Linked DNA regions of Homo sapiens: all the other regions are linked to region 2. The links are contacts of gene promoters, found by promoter capture Hi-C in blood cells and fetal thymus (Javierre and others, 2016). All regions are on one chromosome and are shown on one strand. The core of a region is centred on a gene start or on the middle of the fragment in contact, and the rest is flanking DNA. Distances in the headings are between cores, read along the strand shown.

What was found. The method cuts DNA at HindIII sites, captures the fragments that hold promoters and counts their contacts. A CHiCAGO score of 5 or more calls a contact.
Region 1: a fragment that was not itself captured here is called in contact with the fragment with the promoter of GJB6 in region 2 in 1 of 17 cell types (fetal thymus); the score reaches 5.4 in fetal thymus.
Region 3: a contact is called between a fragment that was not itself captured here and the fragment with the promoter of GJB6 in region 2, in 1 of 17 cell types (total CD4 T cells). The highest score is 5.8, in total CD4 T cells.

What each region holds. Positions count from the first base shown.
Region 1 is chr13:20,924,108-20,928,939 of GRCh38, reverse strand. No RefSeq gene overlaps it. Among named protein-coding and RNA genes, the nearest start is that of LINC00367, 23 kb to the left of the region's middle. The HindIII fragment of the contact is 1,667 bases long and covers 2,749-4,415 here.
Region 2 is chr13:20,230,813-20,235,031 of GRCh38, reverse strand. GJB6 (gap junction protein beta 6) reads left to right here and starts at 2,713. Exons shown (of 5, transcript NM_001110219.3): 1 at 2,713-2,838; 2 at 3,527-3,650. The HindIII fragment of the contact is 2,257 bases long and covers 1,052-3,308 here.
Region 3 is chr13:20,832,797-20,837,250 of GRCh38, reverse strand. The region is part of intron 6 of XPO4 (exportin 4); the gene reads left to right. Among named protein-coding and RNA genes, the nearest start is that of EEF1AKMT1, 61 kb to the right of the region's middle. The HindIII fragment of the contact is 2,748 bases long and covers 1,647-4,394 here.

The DNA.
Region 1 (4,832 bases), core at 2,333-4,832, 690 kb before region 2:
CTCATGCCTGTAATCCCAGGACTTTGGGAGGCCAAGGTGGGCGGATCATCTGAGGTAAGGAGTTCGAGACCAACCTGGCCAACATGGTGAAACCCCATCTCTACTAAATACAAAAAAATTAGCCAGGCATGGTGGTGGGCACCTGTAATCCCAACTACTCGGGAGGCTGAAGCAGGAGAATCGCTTGAACTGGGGAGGCGGAGTTTGCAGTGAGCCGAGATCACGCCACTGCACTCCAGCCTGGGCAACAGAGCCAGATTCTGTCTCAAAAAAATAAAATAAAATAAAATAAAATAAATACATAAGTAAATTTTAGTAGGTCAAATATATTTTTAAAACTTTATAAGTTTAGGCCAGGTGTGGTGGCTCACACCTGTAATCCCAGCACTTTGGGAAGCTGAGGTGGGAGGATCAACTGAGCCCAGGAATTCAAGACCAGCCTGGGCAATGTAGGGAGACCCCATCTCTATAAAAAATATTTTTAAAAATTAACCAGGTGTGGTGGCACACACCTATGGTCCCAGCTACTCAAGAGGCTGAAGTAGGAGGATTGCTTGCACCCAAGAGGTTGAGGCTGCAGTGAACTATGATCGCATCACTGCACTCTATCCTGAGCGACAGAGCGAGACCCTGTCTCAGGGCAGCGCAGGGCAGGGAATCAATCTCACACTTTTACCTCATCATTTATAGATGTAAATGATATTTAGGAAAAATAAAAGAGAAAAATTTCCTTAGCTCATCAAAAAGCCTTATAACGTTTAGTCCTTGGACAATCAGAGATTTCAAGTGCTATAGGAATCAATGTGATTTTTAAATTTTTAATTACATTTTAAATTTAATTAATTTTAAGTAGTTTTTAAATTTAATTAAATTTTAAATATTTTTTAAATTTAAATTTTTAAATTTAATTAAATTTTAAATTTTTCATGTGATTAAAAAAATTTTAACAACAAGTGATTGTTTTTTCAAAGTCTGAAGAAGAAGCTAATGTTATGTGACATTTTCTTGTGTAAGTTTCAATGATGTTTACAATTTGTCTTTGATGATTGTGCTTTATTTCTCCACGTGGGGATCTTGTTCCTTATCTTAGTGAACTGAAAAGAGTTTGAATTGGTATTGTCAAGGCATAGATTTAGTAAACCCCAGCTTCTCAGTTCCAGTAGAGAAAGTGAGCAAATGAGGAACTCAATAACTGGTGCTAAAGATAAAAATAATTTAAAGAAATTTCCCTCAAAACATTATTATTTTAGGCCGGGCATGGTGGCTCATGCCTGCAATCCCAGCACTTTGGGAGGCCAAAGTGTACGGATCACTGGAGCTCAGGAGACCAGCCTGGGCAACATGGTGAAACCCCATCTCTACAAAAAAAAAAAAATACAAAAAATTGGCCAGGTGCGGTGGCTCACGCCTGTAATCCCAGGACCTTGTGAGGCCGAGGTGGGTGGATCACGCAGTCAGGAGATCGAGACCATCCTGGTCAGCACAGTGAAACCCTGTCTTTACTAAAAGTTCAAAAATTAGCCAGGCGCGGTGGCGCACACCCATAGTCCCAGCTACCCAGGAGGCTGAAGCACGAGAATCATATGAACCCAGGAGGCGGATGCTGCAGTGAGTTGAGATCGCACCACTGTACTCCAGCCTGGGTGACAGAGCAAGACTCTTGTCTCAAAAAAAGAAAAAAAAAGTTAGCTGGTCATGGTGGTGCACACCTGTGGTCCCAGCTAGTGGGAAGACTGAGGTGAGGATTGTTTGAGCCCAGGAGGTAGAGGTTGCAGTGAGCCGAGATTGTGCCCCAGCCTGGCAACGAGATTGTACTCCAGCCTGGGCAACAGAGTGAGATCCTGTCTTAAAACAACAACAACCAAGAAAACACACATACATTATTATTTTAATTTTTTTTTTTTTGAGACGGAGTTTCGCTCTTGTTGCCCAGGCTGGAGTGCAATGGCATGATCTCTACTCACTGCAACCTCTGCCTCCCAGGTTCAAGCGATTCTCCTGCTTCAGCCTCCCAAGTAGCTAGGATTGCACCACCATGCCCAGCTAATTTTGTATTTTTTTTAGTAGAGACAGGGTTTCTCCATGTTGGTCAGACTGGTCTCGAACTCCCGACCTTGGGTGGTCCGCCCGCCTCAGTCTCCCAAAGTGCTGGGATTACAGGTGTGAGCCATGCCCAGCCTATTATTCATTTTTTTAAAGAGACACTGTCTTCCTGTCACCTAAGCTAGAGTATAGTGGTGCAATCATAGCTAACTGTAGCCTCAATATCTTGGGCTCACCTCAACCTCCTGAGTAGTTAGGACTACAGCTGCACCATCGTGCCTGGCTAATTTTCACATTTTTTGCTAGAGATGGGATCTTACTATGTTGTCCAGGATGGTCTCAAACTCCTGACCTCAAGTAATCCTCCTGCCTTGGCCTTCCAAAGTGCTGGGATTACAGGTATGAGCCACCACACCCAGCCAAAACATTAGTTTTAAACTATCCAGTGGATGCCCATTTTTCATATAACAGTTTCCTCTTATTATATTACTGATTAATTCAGATAACTAACCTGTAGCACTAACAATAACATAGCAGCTGTTATTGATACAGGAGCTAGAAAGAAATTATTTAGGCAGATAGTGAGGGTAAGAGTCCTCAGCAAGGCTTTCCTTTTAATGAAAAGCAGCCCCCAAATCGTTTGTTTCCTAACAAAGAGCAGCCTGTAAAATTGAGCTGCAGACATAGACAAGCAAGCTGAAAGCTTGCACAGATGAATCCCTGCAGCTGTGCTAATAGGAGAAAGCTACCTGGGGGCCAGGCATGTGCAACATGGAGGATCCATCTTCTCTTTTCTTTGTCAACCATGTGTGCAGTAAAGAAGCAGGCAACAACGTGGTGCTGGCCAGGTAGAAACCTCATCTTCATGATAAAAGATTAGGGTGAGATGGTCAGCTTCTTCACACACTATGCTGATTTAAATGATTCAGAGATCATTTCAATTTTGCAAATGGCACACCTGGTTCAAGCAATCTCTTGTGCTTATGTTTGTTTGAGACGGAGTCTCGCTTGGTCGCCCAGGCTCGAGTGCAGTGGCGCGATCTCGGCTCACTGCAACCTCCACCTCCTGGGTTCAAGCAATTCTTCTGCCTCAGCTTTCCGAGTAGGTGGGATTTCAGGCGCCTGCCACCACGCCCAGCTAATTTTTGTATTTTTAGTAAAGACAGGGTTTCACCATATTGGCCAGGCTGGTCTCGAACTCCTGACCTCGTGATCCGCCCGCCTTGGCCTCCCAAAATGTTGGGATTACAGGTGTGAGCCACCGCACTCAGCCCTCTTGTGCCTATGTAAATCAGACATTGCCTCCTCAAGCTCGTCCATAAAACCCCACACATGGCCAGCCGCGGTGGCTCCCACCTATAATCCCACACTTTGGAAGGCCGAGGCGGGCAGATCACGAGGTCAGGAGATTGAGACCATCCTGGCCAACATGGTGAAACCCAGTATCTACTGAAAATACAGAAAAAGGAAAAAAGGTTTTAGAACTCCCTGAATGGAATTTAGTTGTTCTGCTCTCTTCCATGCATATCTTTTTCAGAGATCAGTTAAATTTTGTTGAGTAGATTTTTTTGCATGTTTCTCTTCTAGGTCACGGGAGTTTATACTATATAAATGTAAATAGATAACTGTTGCAAGTCATTTCTTTGCAATAACAGGTTACATGATCATAGTTGAAACAAAAACAGATACTAAAACAATAAGAGAGCATGCAGAAATATTCTGATGCAAATGTATTTGATGATTTGATTTCCTTCACTCTGGAATATACTACAGAATGTACTAATATAAATGTGCTTGCCTATGTCTAATCTAGAATATAATTATCCTGAACTCTACATGGTATTTTAGTCTAGAAAGTACTGTAGCTTCTCTGAGTTCTAAATCAAACCAGGAAACAGCAGAGGGCGCTGGTGCTGTGCTTTTGCAAGTGAGATGTGTGCTCATTTCAAGGGTCCACAAAATTTTCTGGCATGCTGTTTCCATGGAGAGGAAAGTAGGTGTTTTCTTTTTCTTTTTTTTTTTCAGTCAAGCCACCTGCAAACTGCAATGTGTTCTTTTAGTGATTTCTTTTTATATCTATGTTTTCCAGGAAGGTTCTGTTGAGCCTACGCAGTCACTTAGAAACAAGAAATATTTGAGAAATTTCTATGAAGTCAAATATGCATTATGTCTCCCACTCTCCAAAATATAACAAAACAAAACAAAACAACTAAACACCCTTGAATGGTATGGCTTACTCTGTTCTTGAACCATATGAGCACCTACTGTTTGTTGATTCCATGTTAAACCAACAAAAAGATACTGAGCAGGCTTATGTTCAATGTATGTATTGAGCACCATTTTGCGCATATCAAATGCTTGAAACTGAAGCTTGAAATGTCAGTAAACTCCACAAGGGGTCTCTACATAAACTTTTTTTCTTTCTTTCTTTTTTTTTTTTTTCAGATGGAGTGTCGCTGTCGCCCAGGCTGGAGTGCAGTGGCACGATCTTGGCTTACTGCAAGCTCCACCTCCCGGGTTCACGCCGTTCTACTGCCTCAGCCTCCCAAGTAGCTGGGACTACAGGCGCCCGCCACCACACCCAGCTAATTTTTTGTATTTTTAGTAGAGATGGGGTTTCACTGTGTTAGCCAGGATGGTCTCGATCTCCTGACCTAGTGATCTGCCCGCCTCAGCCTCCCAAAGTGCTAGGATTACAGGCATGAGCAACCGCTCCCGGCCTGGTCTCTACATAAATTGATCACAAGTTTTTGTAGAATAACAGTATAAAAAATAGTATAAAGCACATA
Region 2 (4,219 bases), core at 1,464-3,963:
CTGGATTTGAACTTTTCAGTTGGTGCTGGAAGAGTTAAGCCTTTGGGGACTATTGGGATGGAATGAATGTATTTCACATGTGAGAAAGGCATGAATTTGGGGGGCTAAGACAGAATGCTATGGTTTGAATGTGTCCCCTAAAGTCCATGTGTTGGAAACTTAATCCCCAATGAAACAGTGTTGAAAGATGGGAGGGACTTTTAAGAGGTGAGGAGGTATGATGGCTTTGCCCTCATGAATGGATTAATGCTGTGATCTCTAGAGTGGGTTAGTTATCTTGAGAGTGGGTTCCTGAAAAAACAATGAGTTTGAACCCCTTCCTCTCTCTCCACCCCCACCTCTCTCTCTTTTCTTTCCCTATCTTCTCATTCTTTTGCCCCTCCACCTCTGCCATGGGAAGACACAGCAAGAAAACCCTCGCCAGATGCGAGCATCTTGATATCAGACTTCCCAGCCTCTAGAATTCTGAAAAATAAATTTCTTTTCTTTATCAGTTACCCAGTCTATGGTATTCTGTTATAGCAACACAAATGGACTAAGACAACTAATTTTCAGTTTTCAAATGCGCATCCCATCAAGTCCTTAAGTTTTATACAGTCCACATTTAATTTCTGCTGCAACAAGACTGTCTGATGAGTAGCAAAAACTGAAGGACAGTGTTCAATGTTAAGGCCATGCAGACTAATATAGATAACCTGAACAGAAAAAGAGATATTTTACACAGTGATGAGATGGTTTCATTTTTGCACACATGAGCAAATGCAACACATTCTCTGTGACAACTTTGGTTTGAAAGTTCTATCCTGCACCAGTCCTAGAACAATTTCCACTGGTCCAGGATGTCAATGCTCAGACACAGTACTGCATGGAATCAGGTGCAGGATTGAGAACAGGGCATGCTTTAGAAAAAGCAAAAGCTATTTCCAGGACTATCTGCTATGCTGGTTCAGCTTTGCCAAGCAATATTCAAATACTCATGGAGCAGCACATACTATGAGCAAAGTACTTAGTATTGTAGAAATGCAAAAGAAGAAGAAGAGGAAGAAAAGCTTAAACTGTTTATAATCCCCAAAGAAGTTTACAATCTGCTTAGAAAAATTATTTTACTATGCAAACAGCTGAGCCTGGCTGAAGCATCTGTTTGGGAGAGGAATGGAGAGAAGACTGGGAAGTCCACAGTTAGATTGTGTGGGGCAGGACAGAGCACCCAAGATTTACCGCATAGGGCACATCTGGGCAGTGTGAGGATGTCTAACAAAAAAGCCTAGAGATGCTCGGCGCGGTGGCTCACGCCTGTAATCCCAGCACTTTGGGAGGCTGAGGCAGGTGGATCACCTGAGGTCAGGAGCTCCAGACCAGCCTGGCCAACATGGTGAAACCCAGCTCTACTAAAAATACAAAACCTAGCCAGGCATGGTGGTGCGGGCCTGTAATCCCAGCGACTCGGGAAGCTGAGGCAGGAGAATCACTTGAACCCGGGAGGCAGAGGTTGCAATGAGCTGAGATCACACCACCACACTCCAGCCTGGGCAACAGAGCCAGACTTAGTCAAAATAAATAAATAAATAAATAAATAAATAAATAAATAAATAAATTTAAAAAGCCTAGAGATTTCTGTGTCTCTCCACTCTCCAAGTTCAAGGCCATTTCAGGGGCCTCCCCAAAGTTTTTAAAACTTGACTTGGGCAAATTCTTTAAGAACCTTGTTCTCCTCAAATAAAATATTTTGGAAAGCGGATTTTTATGAAGTCTTGGCTCAAATTCCATGACCTTTAACAGACATCTTAATTGTTTCGTGGGAGAATATGACCCAACAAGTGGCATATGGTTTAGGTGGGGACGTTTAATTACCGAACAGTTTTGTAGAATAAGCAAGTCACACATCTTTTGTCCGATGCGTGACAGGTTTGAACCTGTAAAGCCAGGTGCCTAAATAGCTTCCAACGTTTCCACCCCACCAGCCCTTGCACCACTCCCTGTACTGGCCCTGAGCTTTCTAGTCTTGACTGAAAAGCGGGGAGGCAATGTGGTCTCTCCTGGTGCACTGTCCCGAGGAAGGCCTGCTCCGCTTCCCCGGAGGAGTCTTCAAAGGATGGAGGTAATTAATAAAAACAACCCCTGTACCTCCTCTAAGTGGTCATTAATTAATAAAGAACCTCCAGGCTCCTATAGGAGAGGTCTGTGCACCCCGCGGGCTATGAGAAGGCTGGATCACCCAGAAAGACTGAGGATGTGTCCTGGCAAAAACACAGCCTGCCCCTCACACTGCTCCCCACGGGTGCACTAGGGAGGAAGAGTTCCCTCGAGGGCCTGAGCAGGCGCCCCACACCTGCACCCGTGCAGAGGGGGCTGGGCCCGCCCTCTGCGCTCCCGAGGGAGAGCCCTACCCCCTGCATCCCCGGTACCCCGTTCCCTCCAAGGGCCGGAAAGAGGGCCCCGCGCACTGTGCACTTCTTAGGGGTCCCCCACCCTGCGCCCCCGCCACGGGAAAAAGGTCCCCGCTCTGCGCATCCGGCCCCGGAGGGACAGCCCCGGTCCTGCACTCCTTGCTCCTCAGGGGGACGGTCCGCGCCCAGCGGCTAGTGCGCCCCGGGTAGGTGGGGGCGGGGGGCTCGTCGAGTGACAGCGCTCGCCTCCCGCAGCCCGCCCGAGCCGCGTCAGGGCAGAGGCGGGGTGGGGCGCGGTTAAAAGGCGCAGCAGGTGGGAGCCGGGGCCTTCACCCGAAACCCGACGAGAGCCCGACAGCCGGCGGCGCCCGAGCCCGACCTGCCTGCCCAGCCGGAGCGAAGGGCGCCGCCCCGCGCAGAGCCCGCGCCAGGGCCGCCGGCCGCAGAGCAGGTAAGCGGGCGCGGACCGGCTGGGTCTTGCGGGGGGCGAGCGGGCGGTGCCACCTCGGCCCCCCAGCGGAGGAATTTCCTCCAAGAAAACAAAACAGGTGAGGTCGGCGGCTGGTCCCCACCTCGCCCCTGTCGCTCCTGTCTGGCACCGGATCAGAGCCGGCAGAGCGCGGCCGGGATGGGTGTCTGGCCGCACGTGGGGCGACCGGGCCCCCGATCTGCCTCTATCCGCACCCTCCTGTCCACGCGCCCCGGCCCCGGCCCGATGGCAGTGGGCGCCGCCCGCGCTGGACCCTCTCTCTGTACGCAGAGGAACGAGGATGGACTGGTTTGACTTTTACCCCAGCGTGGTCCCCTTTGACTTGTACAACAGGTTTTATGAAGGTTTCATATCGTGTGTCTAAGAGGCCAGAGTGAGGGCCGGTGCCCCTTTCCCCCGTTTCATTTGCTGCGTGTTGGATTTTCTAAGCTTTTGTGGGTCACCGGGGTGTCCCCTTGGATTTGGGGAGAAGAAAGCCAGGTCTAGGATGCGGGTTTCAGTTCAGACAAACCCTCAACTTGGGCCGATGCATAAGTCCCCGGAGAACCGCAGGGTATGGGCTGCGTGATGGGCTTCCGAGAAACTTGTGAAATGCTGATGACAATAGCGTGGACGACAGTAATTAAAAGTAATTGGCGACACATCTTAGTTAAAACGTGCAGGCACCAGAAGGCACTTCCTGTCGGTGAAGAAGACCTGTCTCCGGTGTCACGGGCATCCTGTGTTTTGCAAACGGGGCTGACCTCCCTTCCTGGGGAGCAGGAAGGGTCAGGGTGAGTGTGGCCTGCCCGCAGCTCTGCACTCCCGGAGGGGTTAGGGACCTGCAACCAGGCGGGGACACTGGCCCAGCGACCTCAGTGTCCCCTGGGTGGGCGTGCACTCTGTTTAGTGTCTGATTGAACGTAACCGTGCCGGGTTGTTCTTTTCCCTCAAGTAGACTTTATGCCATACAGCTATTTTCTTGCCCCAGTTCTAGCAGAATCTAACCAGTGTTCTAGAAGAAAATGTCCTGCCCCCATGCAGTCTCCTTAGAATTGCAGGGTGCTGCTCAGAACTGCTCCTGTGGAGAGCTTTGTCTGTTGTTTGGATCCAGCAGCGTCTTTGGGGGTGTTGCTTGAAGCTTGCCAAGGAGGAGAGGGGGGTTCTGAAGAGAGAACACCAGGGCTCTAGCCTGTCACATAACTGGGGGTGTGGAGAGCGCCTCATTGCCACTGCAGTGACTAAAGCTGGGAAGACGCTGGTCAGTTCACCTGCCCCACTGGTTGTTTTTTAAACAAATTCTGATACAGGTAATGATGACTTTATGCTTTTTTTCTTATGTCTTCTCTTCTGAATTCTGAGT
Region 3 (4,454 bases), core at 1,771-4,270, 600 kb before region 2:
GATGCTGCTAAACATCCTAAACATCCTACAAAGCACGGGACAGCCCCACACAAGCAATTATTGGGCCCAAAGTATCAATAGTCATCCACACAAAAACTTGTACATGAATGTTCAGAGCAGTACTATATGAATAGGCTATTCATAATACTATATGAGTAGAAACAACCCAAATGTCCATCAGCTGATGAATGGATAAATAAAATGTGGTATACCCATATAATGGGAATATTACCTGTCATAAAAAGACATGAATTACTGATACATGCTACAACATGTGTAAACTTTGAAAACATACTGAGTGAAAAAAGCCATTCACAAAAGACCACAAATTATATGATAACATATTTATGAAATGTCCAGGATGGGCAAATCTATAGAGACAGAAAGGTTAGTGGTTACCTAGAACTGGAGTGATTGGAACAAAGTAGGAGGTGACTGCTAAAGCATATGGGGTCTTTCTGGTACCATGGAAATGTTCTCAGATTAGATCATGGTCGTGGTTGCACACATCTGTGAATATGCTAAAACCATTGAGCTGTACACTCAGTGGGTAAATTGCGTAGTGTGTGAATTATGTCTTAATGAAGCCTTTAAAAATACCCATCATGTCACGGTGTAGAAACCCACTTCACACAGGTCAACTGCACCATTAGTAGAATTATAGAGGGAGATTAGGGGTGGAGATAAAGTTGTGGGAGAGTGGGGCCATTGAAGTTAAGGAAATAGGAGAGGTGGTCCAAGAAGGAGCAGAGGATCCATGTCAGGACCTTTAGGTGCATCAGTAGTGAAAAAGCAGGAAGAAGCAAAAGAAAATAAGAAAGCCAATTAAGACAAGTGGATGGGAGAACAAGGCAAGGAGTGTTTGGAAAGCAAAGATAGATGATGTTTCAAGGAATCAGGTAGTCAACATCGTCTGTTACCGATAGGTAAGATGTAGATTGTTTTTGATCTACACCGAATATCAGTTAGAACATAGTTGGTCATATGGAAGTCTGTTTATGTGAATGACAGGGGCAAAAGCCGTATCTCAGTGATCAGGTAGTAATTAGTAATTGATGAAGTATAGAGTGAAGTACAATTGACCCTTGAACAATGTGAGGGTTAGAGACACCAACCCCCATGCGGTCAAAAATTCCAGTATAACTTTTTACTCCCCAGAACGTTTTACTAATAGCTTACTGTTGCCTGGAAGACTTACTGATAACATAAACGGTCAGTTGGTACTTATTTTATGTTTTATATGTACTATAATATATTCTTAAAGTAAGTTAGAGAAAAGAAAATGTTGTTAAGACAATTATAAGGAAGATAAATGATATTTAGTGTTCATTAAGTATAAGTGGATCAATCATAAATGTCTTCATCTTCGTCTTCTAGTTGAGTAGGCTCAGGAGGAGGAGGAAGAGGAGGGGTTGGTCTTGCTGTCTCAGTGATAGTAGAGACAGAAGTGGAGGAGGTGAAGGGGAGGTAAGGAAAGGAAGGCACACTTGGTGTAACTTCTAGTGAAAGTACAAGTGGACCTGTGCAGTTCAAACCTGTGTTATTCAAGGGTCAACTGAACTATATAGATATTTCGAAGAGCATCAACTGACAGCTCAAGGGAATGGGGGTTTGTGCCAAGGAAATGTTGTTTTATGCTTTAAGCTTAGATGAACCTGTTTATTGCTTGAGGGGAGAAGTCAGGATTTCAGAAAGAAAATGTGATATTGTGGTGTTAGGCCAATGACATAGATGTTGAGATAGCCCAGGGCGTGGTTGAGGTAGGCAGCCCTGTGGTAGTGTGAACTGCCTGCCTTGATGATCCATACTTCTTAGCTATTAAGTGCTGATTTGACCAGCTTTGTCTAGGTTTCTTTCAAAATGGAGGAACACAGTGGTAGAAGTCAGCATGAGGGAATTTTATTTTATCATTATTTTTTTAAACTGATAGAATTGCAAGGAGAGTGATGGAATTTTAAAGCACATATATGTAAAGCCCTTGTGAAGTATTTTCTTCTGTCCTCTCTTTTTTTGAATAATCAGTATTTCCTCCAACTATTGTCTATTTGTACCTGGCATTGTACCCTTTAAAAAGAAAGTAGAGGCAGCACATGGTGGCTAACACCTGAATCTCAGCACTTTGGGAGGCCAAGGCAGGAGTATGGCTTGAGCTTAGGAGTTCAAAGTTACCTTGAACTATGATTGCACCACTGCACCCCAGCCTGGGCAACAGAGGAAGACCTTGTCTCTTAAAACAGAAACAAACAAAAAACTAAGTTAAGTTTTCTGATTTTTAAAAATTATTATTTATAGAGATAGGGTCTTGCTCTGTCACCCAGGCTAAGGTATAGTGGCATGATCATGGCTCACTGCAGCCTTGACCTCTGAGTTCAAGTGGTCCTCCTGCCTCAGCCTCCCAAGTAGCTAGAACCACAGGTACACATCACCACACCTGGCTAATTTTTAAATTTTTTTGTAGGGCAGGATCCCACTATGTTGCCCAGGCTGTCCTCAAACTCTCCTGGGCTCAAGTGATCCTCCCGCTTTGGCATCCAAAAGTGCTGGGATTACAGGCATGAGCCACTGGGCTTGGCCTGGATTTATTTATTAAAGGTTTTTTTTTTTTATTTCTTTCAACACTGTTTTATAGTTTCCAGAGCAAAAGATTATTAAATTTATTCTAAGTACATTTTTTTTTTGAGACTGGGTCTCGCCCTGTTGCCCAGGCTGGAGTGCAGGGGTGTAATCATGGCTCTTGGCAGCCTCGACTTCTTGGGCTCAAGCTATCCTCTCAACTTCAGCCTCTTGAGTAACTGGGACTATAGGCACGCATCATGATGCCTGGCTGATTTTTGTAGGGGTTGAGTTTCGCTGTGTTGTCCAGGCTTGTGAGTATTTTTTTATTATTCAATTGTAAATTGTTTTTTAAATTTCATTTTCACACTATATAGAGAAAAATACAAATGATTTTTGTATGTTGATCTTGTATCCTGTAATCTTGCTGAACTTGCTTATTAATGCTAATGAATTATATACATAATTGTATTATCTGCAAACCATTATATTTGTTAAGGATTATTATATGTAGCTTTTCTATGTGCAGCAGGTGATTTATGAAAGTATCCACCTACCCAGACCCAGTGGTGCAAAGTCCACAGTTTCTGTGATTTGGTAGATGTTAAAAATCACTCTGTGGCCCAGAGAGCGAATTCCTCTGCACTTTGTAGCCCCATGTTACTCTGAGACTCTGGAGACAAAATTCACTTGCTTCTCATTCTGTTTTAGATCACTGTTGTGCAAAGAAAGTGTCCTGGTCCTGTGATCCTCCATCATACCATCATCCCCATTTGATAGTGGGCGCTGGGGTCCGGGGCGGTCTCATCACCACCTCCCTCTCATAGCTCTTCTGGTAGAGCTGCACTCACAGGCCAGCTTTCCTTCTACCTTGTTCCTTGCACACACTGCTTCTCTGCCTGGGTCCTCTCTCTTTGCCTGATCACCTAATTGTACTTCAGCCTAGACCAGGTTGGCTTTCTTTTGCTATTTTCTCCCTATGCATGTTGTATATGATTTTTTCCCCATTTGGCTCCCTTCTCAGCTGTAATTTTTCATTCCTTAGATTATTTAAGTACGGTTAGCCCTCCAGGTTTGTGGGTTCCACATCCTTGGATTCAACTGAGGATCAAAAATATTATAACTAAAAAATAACAATACAACAATTAAAAAAATACAAATTTTAAAAACAGTGCAACAATGTACATAGCACTTACATGGTATTGGGTATTATAATTAATCTAGAGGTGATTTAAAGTATATGGGATGTTTATAAGTTACATGCAAATATGATGCCATTTTATATCAGAGACTCTGGATTTATATCAGAGCATCTGTGGATTTTGGTAACCATGGGAGGTCCTGGAACCAGTCCCCCTCCGGATATTGAGGGACAACAGTAGTGTCTGTTTACCTACTGCGCGAAGCTCCGTGAAAGCATGGGCCATGCTTTTGCTCACTGCATTGTTGAGCCCTAGCACAGATGCTCAGCAAATATTTATTATTATATATTTATTATTTAATTATTGAAAGAAGCCCGTTCAGAAGTATTAGCTCAGTTTTCGGATGTTTGTTCACTATAAATATAGTTCGGCTAGTAGTTCACCTGGTGTTCATAAATGCTTAAGGGTTTTGGCAATGCTAATCATAAATGACAATATCATTTTGTAACAAGAATGTTTGGCAGGTATGTGTGGTATGTTGGCTTCAGTGATACTTCTTTTTTTAGTTTGGTTACACTGCCTTTTATTGGTATTCTATTTTTGTGGATCTGATTTGGTTTTGGTAAACTTTTTTTTTTTAACTTAATCTCTTGGAGAAAGCTAACTGGATTATAGAGTAAGTAATGGGATACAGAAGCTTTCACCTAAATTGGATTTCCAGTAAAGCCAACCTTTACTATTTGGAGGCAAGGCTTGGGA